Linked DNA regions of Homo sapiens: all the other regions are linked to region 3. The links are contacts of gene promoters, found by promoter capture Hi-C in human tissues and cell types (Jung and others, 2019). All regions are on one chromosome and are shown on one strand. The core of a region is centred on a gene start or on the middle of the fragment in contact, and the rest is flanking DNA. Distances in the headings are between cores, read along the strand shown. Region 1 has its middle 6.3 kb from the start of ZNF707. Region 2 overlaps ZC3H3 (zinc finger CCCH-type containing 3). Region 3 holds the start of EEF1D (eukaryotic translation elongation factor 1 delta).

The links. The method cuts DNA at HindIII sites, captures the fragments that hold promoters and counts their contacts. A contact is called where the count stands out against the background at its distance.
Region 1: a contact is called between a fragment that was not itself captured here and the fragment with the promoter of EEF1D in region 3, in 11 of the 25 tissues and cell types used here (H1 embryonic stem cells, dorsolateral prefrontal cortex, heart left ventricle and 8 more).
Region 2: a fragment that was not itself captured here is called in contact with the fragment with the promoter of EEF1D in region 3 in 3 of the 25 tissues and cell types used here (H1 embryonic stem cells, mesendoderm cells and thymus).

What each region holds. Positions count from the first base shown.
Region 1 is chr8:143,676,484-143,679,942 of GRCh38, reverse strand. No RefSeq gene overlaps it. Among named protein-coding and RNA genes, the nearest start is that of ZNF707, 6.3 kb to the left of the region's middle. The HindIII fragment of the contact is 5,591 bases long and covers 1-3,459 here.
Region 2 is chr8:143,483,729-143,486,935 of GRCh38, reverse strand. The region is part of intron 4 of ZC3H3 (zinc finger CCCH-type containing 3); the gene reads left to right. Among named protein-coding and RNA genes, the nearest start is that of SNORD149, 21 kb to the left of the region's middle. The HindIII fragment of the contact is 3,349 bases long and covers 1-3,161 here.
Region 3 is chr8:143,595,893-143,599,150 of GRCh38, reverse strand. It overlaps EEF1D (eukaryotic translation elongation factor 1 delta), which reads left to right and starts at 1,736. Exons shown (of 10, transcript NM_001130053.5): 1 at 1,736-1,803. TIGD5 (tigger transposable element derived 5) reads right to left here and starts at 1,320. Exons shown (of 1, transcript NM_032862.5): 1 at 1-1,320. The coding sequence starts at 1,247. RefSeq lists an enhancer at 2,489-3,088. The HindIII fragment of the contact is 45,525 bases long and covers 1-3,258 here.

The DNA of each region.
Region 1 (3,459 bases), core at 957-3,456, 80 kb before region 3:
ATTCCCCCTCTTTGAGACTCTCACTCATTTTATTAGTGGGAGTTCTCACCTTCTTCCTCACTAGCTATGTCTTCCTGCATGACAGAGCGATAGTGATTCATGAAGTACACTTGTGCTGAAGCATTCTTTTTTTTTTTTTTTTTTTTTTTTTTTTTGAGACGGAGTCTTGCTCTGTCGCCCAGGCTGGAGTGCAGGGGCGCGATCTCGGCTCACTGCAAGCTCCGCCTCCCGGGTTCACGCCATTCTCCTGCCTCAGCCTCCTGAGTACCTGGGACTACAGGCGCCCGCCACCATGCCCAGCTAATTTTTTTTTTTTGTATTTTTAGTAGAGACGGGGTTTCACCGCGTTAGCCAGGATGGTCTCGATCTCCTGACCTCATGATCCGCCTGCCTCAGCCTCCCAAAAAGCTGGGATTACAGGCGTGAGCCACCGCGCTCGGCTGTGCTGAAGCATTCTGGTGAACTAGAGTAGTGATGAAACCTTTTACCATTTGAAGGAGTACAGGTAGTAAACAACGGATCAGTAAGCAGGTTCTTATTACTACTGTAATTTTTATTATAAGAGTTTTAAATCCTCTTAGCGCTGGGAACCATTTTCAAACATGGCCTCAGGATCAAATCCGTGCCACGCTTGTACAGGCACATGTGCCAGTTTCGTCATGTCTTTAACTGTATCTTCAACTACTTGCCCCGATCATGTATGTGCAGGCAGCAATTGGTAAGGTTCAATTTCCCACAGACTTCTCCTTCAGCTGCTAGCAAGTAGTCGAGAGTCAATTTATTTTGATAGATAGCATTTCTCATCTGAGTTTCTTGCCGGGCCAGAATAGTCAAGGCTCTGCCGGTCCTATTAGTGATTATTTCTAAGACAGCTTGTAACCGTATGATTTGGTTGAGCATGTAGATGGGGGTCCGGTATCCCCACAAGCCATCTTGTGCCCAAGTAGCAGGCCTATAATATTCCATCATTCTCTCAGGGGGCCATTTATTATCTTTCTTATTTTTTTATAGCTATGCTTCTCTTTTCGCGGGAAACATAGGGAAGCCCAGGAGTTCACCTGTCTTTATAGGCAGTAGGAAGAAAGATGGTTTAATAGTGCCAATCACACAACTGCCTGCCCACTGGTCGGGTAATTTGGTGTAAGGCCTATGCCCACACATTCAGTATAATCCAGTGGGGGCTGTCCAGTCTCGGTGGGACTCCGGATGGGTCCACACGGTTTGCAACTTTGGGAATTTACTAAATGGATTTTTCTTAGTATGGTTTGAACTCCACTAGGTGGCTGTTTTTGTAGTACCATTATACAGTTTTTGCCTAAGGCAGCTGAGTCGTCCTACAGGAAGGGTGAAGTCCTTCCTTACTCTTTTTTTTTTTTTTTTTTTTTTGAGACGGAGTCTTGCTCTGTCACCCAGGCTGGAGTGCAGTGGCGTGATCTCAGCTCACTACAAGCTCTGCCTCCCGGGTTCACGCCATTCTCCTGCCTCAGCCTCCCGAGCAGCTGGGACTACAGGCGCCCGCCACCACGCCTGGCTAATTTTTTATATTTTTAGTAGAGACGGGGTTTCACCGTGTTAGCCAGGATGGTCTCCATCTCCTGACCTTGTGATCCGCCCGCCTCGGCCTCCCAAAGTGCTGGGATTACAGGCGTGAGCCACCGCGCCCGGCCCCTTACTCTTGCTATACAGTATTGTCTAGTGATTGAGGCTTTTAGGACCCGGAAGTTATCAGGGTGATTTTTCTGAGCCAGGAATTCGTCAGGAACTGGGTCTGTAGGTACTAATTCTTGGGCTTCCCGTGGCCATTGGTCTTTTATTATAGTTCCTCCACACACATAGCATGAAGTGACATTGAGAGACTGGGCTACATGGTCAGCTAATTGCAAACAAATTTCTTATTTTTCCTGGAATTTCTGGTGCTGGCACATTCAGTTCATCATAGAAGGTTTGAAATACTGGCTCAGGAGAGCGTTTATAAACTTCTCCTCAAACCACAATATTTACTTGAAGATCCAGTCCAGCCCCATGAATTTCTAGGGTTATGGCCGGGCACGGTAGCTCACGCCTGTAATCCCAGCACTTTGGGAGGCAGAGGCGGGCGGATCACGAGGTCAGGAGATCGAGACCATCCTGGCTAACACGGTGAAACCCCATCTCTACTAAAAATACAAAAAATTAGCCGGGTGTGGTGGCGGGCACCTGTAGTCCCAGCTACTCAGGAGGCTGAGGCAGGAGAATGGCGTGAACCCGGGAGGCAGAGCTCGCAGTGAGCCGAGATCGCTCCACTGCACTCCAGCCTGGGTGACAGACCGAGACTCCATCTCAAAAAAAAAAAAAAATTCTAGGGTTACACATTTCCTTTTTTTCCAGCGAGGATTAAGGGGGTTGGTTATTACTAGTTCTAAGGGGTTACACTGACCACTGGTATAGGAAGGGCCACTTTTCCTTTTCTGAAGGTGGACAGAATTTTTTTCATTTTTTATCCAAGTAGCCTAAATGACACAAGACCAGTAACTACATTCATTTCCACACAGTCCTAACTCATGATAAATGTACTTATTTTCTGCCATACAGCCTCTTTCCTAATGAAGAGAACCACATCCTATTCCTAACTTATTAGTATTAATGACAGCACAGGCATCACACTTCAAGGTGACTTGTTTGGGCACCTCTTTTTGTTTGTTTTTTTTGGCTAACACTTTACTCATATTGTTTATGAGCCCCCACCAGTCTTTAATTCTTAATCTTATTTGAAAAACTGTGGTCATGGGAGGCTCAGATGGGTCATAACACACATCAGGTTGGTCATTTCCTGGGCACATACCTTGTATAGAATAACATTATACAAACAAGTTCTTTTTAGAGTTCCAGTACACTTATAATAACCGTAAAATAATGGGACTGTAGCAACATTTTGTCCTCCCTCAGTGACTTGATGTATACACTAGGAACAGTCCTCAGTCTGAGGAGGGTGAGTTGAAGTCCTTACTGTACAAGTCCAAATTTTAAGGAAAACGAGTCCTGCGATGAGTTTCCTCATGCTTCGGCCGTGCATGGACCAGTCAGCTTCTGGGCGTGACTGGAGCAGGGCTTGTCGTCTTCCTCAGAGTCACTTTGCAGGGGTTGGCGAAGCTGCTGCTATCCACGTACTGCTCACAGTCTACTGATGTTCAAGGATGGTCTCGGAGGTTGCGCCTGCTAGAATAAACTGAGTCCAACACCTCTACACAGTTATGTTCAACTGGGCTCCCCGATACCGGGAGCAAGGTGCTGGGGTTTAGGGTGTTGCAAACTGCAGTGGTTATGTGGGGATTTTCACACAGCAAGCTTTGGTACTTGGTTAATCTAGCATTTGTTAGCCAATGATGTCCTTTGGGATTCATCAAAGTTACCACAGCATGGGGGGCCTTTATATTCAGGTTTTGTCCAAGAGTTAGTTTATCTGCTTCTTGTGCTAACAGG
Region 2 (3,207 bases), core at 238-2,737, 110 kb after region 3:
GTAGCGGGTGCTGTTCTGTGTCTGAGCTTCGTGGTGGTGGGGCCGTGTAGCGGGTGCTGTTCTGTGTCTGAGCTTCGTGGTGGTGGGGCCGTGTAGCGGGTGCTGTTCTGTGTCTGAGCTTCGTGGTGATGGGGTCGTGTAGCGGGTGCTGTTCTGTGTGTGAGCTTCGTGGTGATGGGGTCGTGTAGCGGGTGCTGTTTTGTGTGTGAGCTTCGTGGTGGTGGGGTTGTGGAGCAGGTGCTGTTTTGTGTGTGAGCTTCTTGGTGGTGGGGTCATGTAGCGGGTGCCATTCTGTGTCTGACTTCTTTTGTTCATCACTTTTCATGGACTGAATTGTGTCCCCCACCAAGTTCATAGATGGAAACCCTAACCCCCAATGTGACTACGTTTGGGGATGGGGTCTTCAAACAGGTAATTGAGGTTAAATGGGATTATACGTGTTTGGCCCTGATCCACTAGGACTAATGTCCTTACAAGAATAAAAAGTGCCACCAGGGGCACATGCCCAGAGGAAAAGCCACGGGAGGACAGTACAAGCCAGGAAGGGAGACCTCACCAGAAACCAGCCTTGCCAGAGCCTCGGTGCGGCCCCAGCCTTGTGAGAAAGTGTGTTTCTGTTGTCGTAGCCGCCCACTGCAGAGCATTCCATGGCAGCAGCCAGGCAGCCGTAGGCGCCCACGTTTCTCACTCCGCTACATTGCCGCGCCTGGCGGGAACTCATTCTTTTTCCCTGCCGTGTGGTGTTCTGTGATATGGATACGCCATGTGTGTCCATCTTGCAGTTGATGGGTGGGTATCTGGAGTCTCTCCCATCCTTGCCAGTTATGAAGCTGCTGTCTTGGGTGTGTCTCTGGGTGCTGGTAGCCCTCGTTTGTGTGGAGTTGCTGCCTCAGAGGGTGATGGACACTGAGCTTTGGAAGCTGTCCCAGGTAGCTGTCCCAGCCTGCCAGCAGCAGCATGTGAGCATTGTGGCTGGCCCGTGGCCTTGGCCAGGATTCTCAGGCCCGTGTCTCCTGTTCTTGCCATGCTGGGGGGTGTGGGGCCTCACGCCCATCCCGCTGGCTGGCATTGCTGGGCATCTTTTTCTTCACTCAGGTCTCCTGGTGGTGCCCTTCTTTACTGTAAAGGGCCTCTTTGGGTGTTGGCCTGTTTTTGTGTGATTTGCCTTTTGGCTGATTTGTGGGAGTTTGTTTTTGTTGTGGATGTTTTCCGCCCCACACGTCTGCTTACAGCGAGGGACCTGCTCTTCCACGGCATCTGGTTTTTTAGCCTTTTATGAGTAGTGCTCTTTGTGTCCTGTTTAAGAAATATTTGTCTATCCCACATTCATGTTTTCTTCTAGAAGCTTGGCTATTTTAGCTTTTATATTTTAAGCCTGAGGCTTCTTGAATTAATTTTTACCTGTGGTCTGAGGTAGGGGCCAGAGTCCTTTTGTCTCCCCATGGAGACACATGTATTGAAATGAGATCCTGACCCACTCAGGTGCAGGGGCGCCTGCGTCACTCGGGTGAGCAGATGTATGGGCTGTTCCCAGACTCTCCATCCTCACTGTTGACCCACTTGTCTGTGCCCTTCGTTATTCCTGAATGCTTACTCTTCCAGACCACCTTAGAAACACTGGACCGGGTTCTCGGCCTCACCAAGGAACCAGCCTCCAAATCATAGATTTGCATTTTCTTCTTCTTAGGATTTCAGCCACACACACAACAAACACTTCAGATCCCTGGCCCCGCCTGCCTCCCTCCTGTTCTCAGCACCAGGGGGACTCATGCTCCATAACTTCCACATGTTGGCCCGGCGCCCCTGCTGTAGAATTTTTCCTCAGTTATTTGAGAGTGTTTCTGGCTTCTCTTCTTTGTATGTTCCAACTGGTGTTTGCCACTGTCTTGCAGGGCTTTGGTTTTCACACATCTTTGCTTCATAATCAGTTCTGGTTACCCCTCTGAAGTGAGTGGGTTTTTATTGTGGTTTTCCCGTGGTTTTTGCAGATACCACTGTCCTTGCAAGGGCCGCATGAAGTTTGCTGAGGTCACCACGCCTTTCCAGGGAGCTGAGCCGGATTTGCTGTGTGGTCTTCGGAGGGGCTGTCCCAGGGCCTGGGAGTGGGGGGATGTCTGCTGTGAGTCTCTTTAGACAGCAGTGACCTGAGGGGTCCTTGAGGGCCTAGGCAGGATTCCTGGCCAGCCTGCCCCTCAGTAGCTGGCACAGACAGAGTGGGTCCTGGGCCGATGACCCAGCCCAAAGGGTGGCACAGGTGCAGAGGGTCGCGGGCCCGCCAAGGACAGCTGCACCTGGCCGCCTGGCACCTCTGCCGGACGAGCTGAACTCGGCACTCCGGGGCCATGAAGTCCCACTAATACTTGTTTTTTTGCAGCTGACATACAAAACACCAATAGCTTCAGCTGAAATGGATTTTTAAAAGTGTCATTTTATGGAGAATTTTACTTTCCATCTTGTTGTTTATTAGGCTCTTAAAGGGAAAGCTTGTAATGCATCCATTGATCGAAATACCAATTGAATAGATGTGAGCACATAAAATACATAAAATAGTCCCAGCCCCTCATAATGGAGCACGACGTTTGTAACGGAGGCAGTGTCATTAGTATTGCCCCCTGCCACCCAGCCAGGCTGCAGAGGCGCCTCCGAATCCTTCTTATTCATTACTGGGGTGAGACGGGGCAGGGATGGCCCTCGGAAGGACCAGTGCCCAGTGAGGAAGTCCTCAGATGTCACAACAGAGCCTCCACCCCACGAGTCAGCCCAGGGGCCGGGGGAGCCAGCCGTGCTCAGCCTCAGCTGGACCAGTCGCACTCAAGGCTGTCCCTGTCCTCAGGGGCCCCCAAACAAGGCTGCTGTCCCTAAGGCTGCATGGCTCTTTCCCCTCATGGCGCCCCTGGCCGCTGGTGCAGGGCTCTCAGCTCCCACCCAGGCCTGTAACCCTGCCTGCCTGCTGAAGGTGTATCCTGGAAAGCCAAGCGGCTGGACGGTCTCTGCAGGCCCCCATACTGGGAGGTAGATGCTGTGGGGGTGACAGCGGGACTAGAGAGCCCATCTGGCCATGGTGCCGGAGCCCCTGCTGAACAGCAGCTACTGCCCCAGGTACCTGGAGGCCCCTTGGAGCTGGTGAGGGCCCCACGGTCTGGGTATAGGGGTTTGGAGGATAGGGGGCCAGACTTGTGAGGAGTAAGTTAGAAGAGGGTTCTTTCT
Region 3 (3,258 bases), core at 487-2,986:
GGTGCGGGGATATGTGCCCGGCTGCTGCCTTTGGACAGGAACAGCACCCGCACAGCGCCATCCGGTGTCTGCAGCTCCTCCGGGGGACCGAGGGGCTCCGGCCTGCACCGCACGGGGGCATCCTCGCTGTCCAGGGCGGGCATACTGGCAGCTGGGCTTGGGCAGGGCGGGTGGGCCACCAGCAGCACGGCCTTCTGCTGCAGGCAGCTTCGGCGCAGGTAGCGTTTGACGCCTGGGACAAATTCCTCAAAGAACCAGCCCCGCAGCAGCGGGCGGCTGAGCCAGGCGTCGGGGCTGTAGCGGTAGGAGGCCGGGAACTTGTCCTGGTTGTGGTGGCGCAGGCTGGGCGGGTCCGGCAGCCGCCCGATGACCAGCGGCTTCAGCTTGTGGCTGCCGGTCAGGTTTGCGGCCAGCAGCACCGTTACGCGGTCGCCCCGCCAGCGCCGGCCACAGCCCCCCGCCCCGGGGTCCCCTGCGCCCGGGGGCGCAGCCTGCTCCGGAAGCAGCTTCCAGTAGAGGCCGGTGACGCTGGCGCTGTAAATCTGCTCGTCCCCGTAGCCGCCCTCGGCCGGGGGCGGCGGGGCCGGGGCGCGGTCGGGCAGGGGGCCGGCGCCGGAGGGCAGCGCGGGCTCCTCCTTGACGGGCGGGCCGGGCGCGGGGCTCGGGGCTGGGGGCCCGGCCTCGCCGTAGAAGCGCTGGCTGGAGATGCCGTGGCGCTTCTGCCAGCGCCAGAACCAGCCGTGGCTGGCCTTGAAGGTGCACTCGGGCCCGTAGATCTGGCGCGCGAAGGCCTCGGCCTGCGCCTGGATGAGCGGGCCAGACAGCGGCACCCCGTGCTGGCGCAGCGCCAGGAACCAGGCGTACACGGCGCGGTCGATCTCCTCCTCGTTGGCCAGCCGCATCTTCTTGCGCTGAGTGCCCACCTCACCGCCCAGCTGCTCCAGGAACCAGCGCAGCTTGGGCTCGTCCTTGAGCCAGCCGCGCAGCGTCCCGCCCGGCACGCCGAAGTCGCGGCACACACTGGCCTGCCGCTCGCCGCCCTTGACGCGCTCGATGGCCTGCAGCTTGTCCTTGATGGAGTAGGCCTTGCGGAAGGCCATCTTCACGGCCACGCGGGGCCGCGGCCCGGGCGCGGGGGGCGGCGGCCGTGCAGCGGGGACGGGGGCTGGGGCGGGCGCGGGGGGCCCGGGCAGGGGACGGCGGCCGCGGCGCGGTACCGGGCCGGCCGGGGGGCCCGCGGGGTACATGGCTGCGGCGGGGGGGACCCGGGCCGCGCGGGTCGCGGGAGCCACACGCCCAGCCGCTCGGGGCGGGGCACTCGGGGGCGGGGCCGCACGGGTCCCTCCCCTTTGTCCCGCAGCTTGGCGGGCGCACGCGCGCTGACCTAGCCCGGCCCGGCCCCGCCCCGCGCCTGCGCGCTGGCCGCCTCGTGCGTCACTCGGCGCTTGCCGGCTGCCGGACCCGCCCCCACCGGCGACACCACTGGCCGCGAAGCGCAGGGGGGGCGCGCGCGCTGCCGCCCGTTCCCAGCACTTGTGCAGACTCCTCCGGGGAAGAGCGGCCTCCGCGGTCATCTCCAACGGAATTCTGCCTTTGAAGTGTCGGGGCACGGCGCGTCGAGGGTCCTGGCGGCCAGGCGGGGCGTGTGCAAGGGTCGCGTCCCCCCCCCGGGCCCCCGGCCCGTGGCTCTTGGTAGAGCCCAGTGCTTCATTTCCCGTGCGCGGCCCGGGCGGCCCTCCCTTTCATCAGTCTTCCCGCGTCCGCCGATTCCTCCTCCTTGGTCGCCGCGTCCTTGGCTGGCGTGTGAGTACCGCGGCCCCCGCCGGAAGGAGTCGGGCGCGACAGAGACGCCCGAGGGGCCGGGAGGGCGGGCGGCCCGGGCTGCGCCAGAAGCTCGCGCCGTTAGGGACTGAGGCACAAGTGCGCCAGCGCGGGCTTAGGGGCCGTGGGCCAAGTGCGGCACTTGGGGCGAGCGCAGAGAGGCGGGGCGACGGAGGCCACGTGGCCGGCTTGGAGGGCGTCCGCGGGACGGGGGCGCCGGGAGCACTGTCTCACGGCGCATCCCGGTCGTGGAAGCCCCTCGGCCAGGCTGCTGGGGCCTAAGGCCTGTGTTTGCTGCCGTCTCCGTGGGAGACCAGACATCTGCCCCAGCTGTTTCTCTGGCCTGCAGACCTTCGTACACCACGTCTTTGTCAAGCACCAGTTACTGCACGCATCAGCTGAGCACGGAGGGGATAGGCACGGACGCAACACTTTTGGAACTTAGACGCTAGTGAGCACGGAAAGGAATAAGCCTGTACTGTGACTGGGTCAAAATTTCTGTCTCTTGATTTGGATAGGGTGGTCGGGCAGTCTCTGAAGGGGGCGGGGATGCTGTTGCTAAGAAGTAGTACTTTCAGAGGCTTTAAGTGGAAGGAAGAAGGCAAAGGGGGCGGAGTGGGTTGGGGACCTGATGAGACGTCAGGATTGGTTTCCAGAATGAAGGACCGCCTGGCAGCAGAAGAACTGTGTAGCTAAACTTGGGGTTGTCCCTGCCCGACAGGGCGGGGTGCTTCTTAAGTTGACACTGCCTGCGGCTCACCTCCCAGGGAGGCAGGCCAGGCCATCTCACCTGAGCAGCCTCCTTCTACAGCTCCGCCCACCCCGTCATCTGGACCCCATGAGCCTTAAGCAGCTGGCTCGCAGGCAGTTGGTTACTTCCGGAGCCCGTGTGTGCCCAGCCCCGTTCTGGGGGTGGGGGATGCAGCTGAGGGGCTGGGCAGGTGTGGAAGGAGCCCCCGAGCGTCCTCTGAGGAAGTAGACGCTCACCTTCGCCTTCTCACCACATGCCTCAGGCCCAGCCAGGCTCCTAGACCTGCCTCTGTAGAGGCTTTCTGGGCGCAGTGCCAATCCTGTGAGACAGCAGCATCTCCCCTGGGCTGCTGCAGGGTTCACACGCAGTCAGTGCTGGCAGAGTGAGCGCCCAGCCGACAGAGCCCCCGCTGCCTCCCGCCTCCTCTGGAGGACTAGGCCCTCTGGGCTTTGCTCCCGGGTTGCTGGGTGAGGCTGCAAGGTTTAGCACAGGTGGGCACACGTGCTTGATGATGGACAAAGAGTACCTGGGCTGTGCCGTGCACTGGCGTCAGCCTTCTGGGGGCTGAGGACAGGAAATGTGGCATTGAGGATTTGTGGGTCATCATCCTGTGCCAGTGTGTTAAGGTGACATCAGCGTGTTGGAAGCTGGTGGCAGTGAGTTATGCTAAGTGCTGGTGTAGGAGC